Linked DNA regions of Homo sapiens: all the other regions are linked to region 3. Evidence: promoter capture Hi-C in human tissues and cell types (Jung and others, 2019). All regions are on one chromosome and are shown on one strand. Each heading gives the region's core, a stretch centred on a gene start or on the middle of the fragment in contact. The rest is flanking DNA. Distances are from core to core; before and after follow the strand shown. Region 1 has its middle 34 kb from the start of IL1RL1. Region 2 overlaps IL18R1 (interleukin 18 receptor 1). Region 3 holds the start of IL1RL1 (interleukin 1 receptor like 1).

What was found. Contacts are between HindIII fragments. The study calls those that stand out against the background at their distance.
Region 1: a contact is called between a fragment that was not itself captured here and the fragment with the promoter of IL1RL1 in region 3, in 2 of the 25 tissues and cell types used here (spleen and stomach).
Region 2: a fragment that was not itself captured here is called in contact with the fragment with the promoter of IL1RL1 in region 3 in 1 of the 25 tissues and cell types used here (neural progenitor cells).

Annotation. Positions count from the first base shown.
Region 1 is chr2:102,275,715-102,278,414 of GRCh38, forward strand. No RefSeq gene overlaps it. Among named protein-coding and RNA genes, the nearest start is that of IL1RL1, 34 kb to the right of the region's middle. The HindIII fragment of the contact is 5,826 bases long and covers 1-2,700 here.
Region 2 is chr2:102,358,019-102,360,718 of GRCh38, forward strand. The region is part of intron 1 of IL18R1 (interleukin 18 receptor 1); the gene reads left to right. Among named protein-coding and RNA genes, the nearest start is that of IL18R1, 3.6 kb to the left of the region's middle. The HindIII fragment of the contact is 5,320 bases long and covers 1-2,700 here.
Region 3 is chr2:102,310,302-102,313,001 of GRCh38, forward strand. IL1RL1 (interleukin 1 receptor like 1) reads left to right here and starts at 1,262. Exons shown (of 11, transcript NM_016232.5): 1 at 1,262-1,322. The HindIII fragment of the contact is 14,312 bases long and covers 1-2,700 here.

The DNA.
Region 1 (2,700 bases), core at 110-2,609, 34 kb before region 3:
GTCTCAGAATAAATATTTTCAAATATTTTACAGAGTTTGACTCCTTTCATCAACACAAGTCACAGCAAACATCTGTGGCTTGAGCTCTCTGAAGAGGTTTTCAGGAGCTTAGTATTCATACAGTTCCCTAAAGGAGAGAAGGCTATAGGAAGAGGGGAGGGCACGTGTAAAGCAAATGGTTACATTTTTGCGAGACTTTAGTTAGTGCTCAGTAAATCTATATTTTATATAAGGTAAGGTGAATGCCTGAAGAAAAAGGGAGTAAATAAAGACTCAATTATGCACATGTCTCAGGGTAGGTGGAGGAATGATTGATCTCATCTTGTCTTCATTCTGTACCTGGAAGAGAAAATCCTGTACCTGGAAGAGAACAAAGACAAGGTGATGCTCTGGTATCTGGAAGATAAACTTGTAATCCACATTGTCAGTGTGAAATCTAACAGACTTCAGTTTTAGGAGCTAGACTTACATTGCAGACCTAAAGTTACAATTGACATGTCCTTGTTTTATGAGAGGATATACATCTTGAAAAGTTTCAACGCCAGCAAAGAACAATCTGTGAGGGCAGCCATCTGGCCATGCTTGAGGCTTTTTGCCTTTCCATGGGGGGTCTGGCTAATGTACAATGTTTTGATGCCAGTTTGTGCAATAATAGCTACTCACCTGGGAAAAGGATGGAGGTGTTCAGTGACTCCGTGTGCAGGCTTAACTCTCCCTTTAGCATAATGAGTTTGGGGATCTTGAGATTTTTAATTTTTTTTACAGCTCCTTGTCAAATATAACATTCTCCTTCATTGCCCTGACTTAGTTTTATATAAAGTGGTGGAACGCCAAATGTGGTGGCTCATGCATGTCATCCCAGCACTTTGGGAAGCTGAGGCAGGAGGATCGCTTGAGCTCAGGAGTCCAAGACCAGCTGGGCAACATAGGAAGACCCTACCTCTACAGAAAATAAAAAAATTAGCCAGTCATGGTGGTGCATGCCTGTGGTTCCAGTTACTCAGGAGCCTGAGGTGGGAGGATTGCTTGAGCCCAGGAGGTTGAAGGCTGCAGTGAGTGGTGTTCATGCCATTGCATTCCAGCTTGCATGGCAGAGCAAGAAACTGTCTCAAAAAAAAAAATGTGGAACTGTCTCTTTGTTATACTAATACATGTAGAAATATTGAGTATCTTGAATTAAGCAGCTGCTGTGATCATTAAAAAAATGTTAGCTTTTTGGATCTCTGTTGAGATAATGTGTGATTCTAGAGGAGGCGCTGCCTATGGTTGTGGTTCTTCTCAACTTTTCCTGTAAGGTACATGACATGGTTGTCAATGTCAATGCACATCAGCTGAACACCTGTCCTTTTATGTCAGGGTTTCTCACCCCAAAGAAGGTGTCAGGAAACCACTGGTCCTATTCTCCAGTTCCTAGAAAGACCACTTCCTAGGGTGTAATGACTGAAAAATGGGCATAGAAAAAAAATCTACACTCACCTTTTACCTTTTTAAACTTTCAGCTGAGTTTGAATCAATATAGGTGAATTGAATTTCTGACCCATTAATAAGTCTCTGGGACTGACCTCTCTTGTTGAATGCAAGGGTTTCCTCTCATGTCAAAACATGTGAAGTGGGGACAGTCTTGTTGCCTGTTTGCTAGGAGCTGTCCACTCAGGGATGCTGCAGTCATTTTCCCAGTGTTTTCAGCTGGATAGGTCTCTCTGGGGTTGGTGAGGAAGAGTAATCTTGGCTGAAGTTGAATGCTGGTCTGCACATGCTACATGCAAATGAGGAGCCACTGTCAACAGGGATTGCTCCAGTAATCTGACAATAGGTGCAAGACTATGACTGCCGCAGTAGATCTGAAAGGAGCCTGGGAGCACAATGAGCCATTGTAAGAGGGAATTCTCCTCAATGGCATTCCCATTGAATGGCCCTGCAAAATAAATGTGGATTTTTGCCTTTAGGTCAAAATTAGGTCCTTAGATAATAGTACATGTTTCTCCATTAAAAAAAATTTTCACAATTATTATAGATACTACCTGCTTCATCAACCCAGGGAGCTCAGGAGTGTTGCCACTGCTCTTCCCCACCACATGGGTCGTAATGGGAAATGGCCATTGCTGCCACGAGGCACTCATAGCCTTGGAGGTTCTCTCTTTTTGGTTTGCAATTCCAGATGAAGTTTCCATTATCGTTCAATGGACCACAACTGTGCTGGGGACTCTGGTGACCAGTCCACACTCATAATTGAGGGACTTGGGTGGGGTCACCCTCCTGCCTTGTAATGTGCCCTCTCTAACTTGGAACCCCTGGGAACAGTCTCTCTCTACCAAGATACCTCTAGGCTGTGTAGCACACAAGCAGCTTTCACTAAGCCCATCAAAATGAAATGCTCAGTTGTATTCTTCTCTGGGCAAGGAATGTCAACTCACCTAAGAAGGTTTCCGCTGTTGTTTCACAAGCCTCCGGGTAGTTGTTGTACATAGACAGAGCAAGCTTTCTTTCAGAGCTCTCTTTTTTCCTTTTCTTTTCTTTTGTTTTAAATGAACACCATTTCTTCTTTAGTGGCTAATCTAACAGCATTCTTAGAAACAGTGCGTTTCTATTCCCTGGGAAAGGTGACGCATGCCTGTAGTCCCAGCTACTCACGAGGCTGAGGCTGGAGAATCACTTGAACCCGGGAAGTGGAGGTTGCAGTGAGCTTAGATCGTGTCACTG
Region 2 (2,700 bases), core at 85-2,584, 48 kb after region 3:
TGTTATGATTTTCATCCAGGCATTTTGTCTCAGGAGTTGCTCGATTGTATGTGTTGCTAATGAGTGATTTATATTGAGGCATCTACATTGATTCATGTGTGTCCTTGTGAATAGCTGTAATCTGAGGCTGGCCATTTCACTTCCTCAAATCTCAGGTTCCTCATTAGAAAGAGCTTTGAAATGGCTCTTTCCCTGTACATTATGTGTTTCTGTGAATTACTTTTAGAGAAAGGTCAGTTTCTCAGGGTGGGACCCATAAACAAGGGCAACTGGGCAGAGCCAGGGGTTCAGGTGACTGTTTGGACCCTCTGGAAGGGCTTTTTACTGTGCTGCCTTGGGAGACAGAGTGGTCAGCTTGGAACTGACCTTAAGCCTAGGTCACCCAATTTTTGAAGGAAACTTTTTTTTTTCATTTAGAGAAAACTTCATGCCTTTGGGTGATTAGGTAAGTTTGTGACTATTCGTTATGTGTGTGTACACACACGTACGTACATATGTACATGCACAAATATTTAATATGTCTTAGACACACCAAATATATGCATTTAAGATGTATTAAATGTACTTTCCTGAGAATACAAATAAGTGCCCTACGTCGGCGGCTCTCTTCCTGACTGTATGTTAGAGTCACCTGCGGAGTTCTGAGGACTCAAGATGCCCAGTCTGTCCTCCAGACCACTGGGTGGAGCCCGGGCATCATTATTTTTTTCCAAACTTGGGTGAGAGCTGGTGGCCTAGACTTCACATTAGTTGCTAAAACATACTTTCCAAGATATCATGCGTTAAAAAGCATTTCAAAAGTAGATTGTGCAGATGTGCCAATGGATCAGATGATCACCTAGATTCAAAATTATGTATATTTTATGGATGTAATTCATTCAATAATTCAGCAAATAACAAAGAAACAAGCAGACATAAAGTGAAAATATGACAGTTAGTGATAAGTGCTATGAATAGAAAAACTAAACATGGGAGGGTAGAGGAACATTGGTGTGTGTGAGCATGTGTGTGTGTGTGCGTGTGTGTGCATGTGCATGTTTGCATTTGGAAAAGCATGCTGTGCTAGACTTGCAGTAGAGTGCTCAGGGAGGACCTGTACATTATAAGCTAGTGTCAGCAAACCGTAGGGGAAATACAGGATTATTTAATTAACAATAGAGAAGTAATTAGTAGGTATTTGAGGAAAGTAAGTTTAGTTACTCCCTATCTTCATGTCAATCAAGAAAATTAATTGTTGGTGGATGAAAAAAGTTAAATATAAAAACAAAACAAAACAATACTGAGCCATAAAAATGAAGAAACTATGTAAGCATCTATTTGACCACCAACAGGAAAGGATATTCTACACTTAAAAGCAATGAAAACATCTCAAAGCAAAAGAATGATCGGTTTGACTACATCAATATAAAATTTGTCATATATTAGCATAACAAAAGAGAGAAAGTAAACAACAAGTTAGACAAACATCTGAGAACTGGACAAAAGACATAAAGAGATGGTTCATAAACATGAAAATAAAATGGCTGATAATAAGTGATTAATATTTGCCTCATTTATACCCAAAGAAATGCAAATTCAGAAAACAATGAGATACCATTTTTCCATTTTGGCTGTCTAATTACATTTTAAAAGTAAAGCTGCTCAGTGTGCTTCTGGGTGTGGTCGATAGATGCTGTCTTGTGCTATTGAGTGAGAGAATATGAATATTGCAACACTTCTGGAATGCAGTTTGTCAGCATGCATCTGTCAGGTTTCAATGTAGTCTTCAACTCAATCACTGTACTGCCATCGAGTAACATCCAGGAAATAATAAGAAATGTAGACAAATAATAATAGCTAACATTTAAGCGGTATTACCATTCACCAGACACTTGCAATAGTAACTCATTTAACTTTCACATCAGTTCCAGGAGATGGTATTATTATCCCCTTCTATAGATAAGAAAATTGAGGCACAGAACAGGCAAGTCAGTTGCCCACAGTCGGTTAGCTGGTTGAAGGTAGAATGGAGATTCAAATCCACCCAGGCTGCCACCTGAGCCCATCCTGCAAAAAAACTGAGCCATCCTGGCTTACCTGTGAAGATGGTCATGTGATTATCTCATAATACATCTGGTAAATGATAATATATCCACATGAAGTAATATTAGGTGGCAATTAGAATGGTTTTAACAAAGAGTTTTGTGACACAGGAAAAATGCTCATTATGTAATATTAGGTGGAAATGCAGGATATGCAATCTTTTAAACATCTTTTATTTTTTGAGAAGGAGTCTTGCTCTGTCACCTAGGCTGGAGTGCAGTGATGAGATCTCGGCTCACTGCAAGCTCCGCCTCCCGGATTCACACCATTCTCCTGCCTCATCCTCCTTAGTAGCTGGGACTACAGGTGCCTGCCAACGTGCCTGGCTAATTTTTTGTATTTTTAGTAGAGACGGGGTTTCACCATGTTAGTCAGGATGGTCTCAGTCTCCTGACCTCATGATCCGCCCATCTCGGCCTCCCAAAGTGCTGGGATTACAGGCATGAGCCACTGTGCCCGGCCAAACATCTTAATTATGTGACAACATTTATAAAAAGTACAAGAAAACATGTTAAAATATTATACATGTTGAGATTATTTTCTTCTTTCAGTCTTCATTTTGTAAATCTCCTACATTGAGTGTAAATTGCTTTGGAAATCAGAAAAACTTTAAAAAGA
Region 3 (2,700 bases), core at 12-2,511:
AGTAGCTTGGATTAGAGGTGTGCACCATCACACGCAGCAAATTTTTGTATTTTAGTAGAGACGGGGTTTCACCATGTTGGCCAGGATGTTGGGATTACAGGCGTGAGCTACCATGCCCTGCCAGAAGGTTTGTTTTTATTTTAAACACAATTGTGCTGGGTGTGATAGGATGGGTATATGATAGAGCAGAAAATCACTAGTATTTCATCAATATGGATAGCATCCTCCATAGGTTACTGATTTAATATTGACAACAATACCCTTCACACGAGAGAGAGGTTAGAGAATTTGCCCAAAGTCAAGCAGCTGGGAAGAGGAAAACTAGGCTGTGCTCTCCCTAAATCTCATGCTCTATTATATTAGGGAAGACTCTGGCAGATGGCACATCCTGATTATTTGAAAGTCACCAATATTTTTAGAAATTGCATAGATAATTAAGGTTAGTTTATCCAGAATTCTAATAATTGCAGCACATGTCCATAAATCTCTATTACAACCACCTGAGATAGGCCATCTCGGGCATGTGGAAAAAGCCCAGGTATAGACACTTTGGATCCTGGATTTCCCTTGTACTGGCTGCTACCTTGGGTAAGGTAATTCTCCTCTCTGAAGCTCCTGTCAGCTTCTGAGGATTGCGTGGGATAGCACATACCAAATTACTGCACACAGAGCCTGGTGTACACTTAAGCACACGAGATGTGTCAAAGTTTTCAAAAACATTGCCAACGAGGCATCAGTTACAAAACTTGCTGCAGAGTGAGCTGATATTGTGCCACTGCACTCCAGCCTGGGTGACACAGTGAGGCTTTGCCTCAAAAAAAAAAAAAAAAAAAAAAGAAAGAAACACCAAATAAGCAACTTGCTGCAGAAATGGGTACTCTTGTTCTAGAAATGTGACTATAGGGAAGTTACAACTACCAACTCGCGTTAAGGGAAATGAGTGACCTGCCACCTACATGGTGTTAGGGAGGTTTTGCTGAGAAAGTCACTCATGAAGAAGGCAAAATATAGTTAAGACAAAATGTAACTATCTATAGAGATAAGGTAAAAATTGGAAATAGAACTTCATTAAAGATCTTTCAAATAGGGAGAATGTGGTGAAAACTGCAGTTAACATTTGTTAACAGTGTGATCATCGGGTTCAGCTTATCAGTAACCTGGTTCCTGTCTCTTAACTGATAAAGAAAATGGGAGGTTTTTAAAGAGAGGCTGGCTGTTGTATTTAGTAAAGCTATAAAGCTGTAAGAGAAATTGGCTTTCTGAGTTGTGAAACTGTGGGCAGAAAGTTGAGGAAGAAAGAACTCAAGTACAACCCAATGAGGGTAAGTGGCTTTGGGGTATTTTTCAAAAATACTTTTATCTCAAAGGGAACAAAATTTTCACATACGAATTTAGGTCATTATAACAATAATATTCATTGTTATATTATTATAACATTATATGTTATAATAATATATAATATATATAATATATAATTGTTATAACATTATAACAATTATATATTATATATAATACAATTATATAATATATATTATATAATTGTAATATATAATATAATTATATAATATATATTATATAATATAATATATAATATATCATATATGTTATATATTTTATTATATAATATATATTATATATAATATTATATATAATATATATTATATATAATATTATATATAATATATATTATATATAATATATTTATATATATTATATATAATATATATTATATATTAAATATTATATATATAATATATATAACATTATTGTTATAATGTTATAACATTATTATATATTAAATATAATATATATAATATTATATTTATATTGAGGAAAACATTCACTCAATGACAGAGGGAAGACTTAGCTTTCCAAACAATCTTCTGTTAAAAGAAAAACTTTAGCTGAATTAAATTTAAAGGAGTTTAATTGTGTTTTGGTGCCTTATGCAAATGAAGGGCCTATAATATAATATATAATGTAATATATATAACATTATAACAATAATAATCATTGTTATCAATTTTGCTTGTGAGAAAAGTAGTATTACCAATGGGAAAATCATGGTACAGATTGATGAAATCCCTTGAAATCTTGTTTGTGTAATATGGGACTTTGGTCCAACGTGTTGGAAAAGACCTGGTTGAGGGTAAGAAAGGATGGGAGCTTTATAGTATACACACAGAGTGCTCATATTCTGGAGTTATTCTTTCTGAAATCCACAAAATCCAGCAGTGTAATCTACTCAGATGGAGATGAAGGAAAAAAACAAAACAAATGAAGCAAGAAGCTGCTGGCCAAAAGGGGTGAGGAAGCAGGGTCATACCCATCTGCAAGAAGAAAATAGAGAACGGACATGAGAGGGGTGGATATGAGGATATGAGAAGGCCCTCTTGAGTGAGGGCCATTGTTTCTGGAGGGGTGGGGAGTGAATGACTGATGTAAGTTCAAGTTTGTTGCGGGTGCCTGCTTTGATCCTCTGCTTGGTGGCTCCATTCTTCTTCTCTCTGAAGGCTACTTCAACAGAGGGTGCAGAGGTAAACATAGCAGAACTGGCCCCCAAAGCTTTATCCACTGAATGTCAGTTTTTCCTTTAATTTCTTCCAGGCATAAGGAAATCGGAGGCATGTTTCTGTCTGGCTATAACAGTTCTCCTACTAGATCCTGAGGCCAAACTATTCACATGCCATTGTTCCTGAA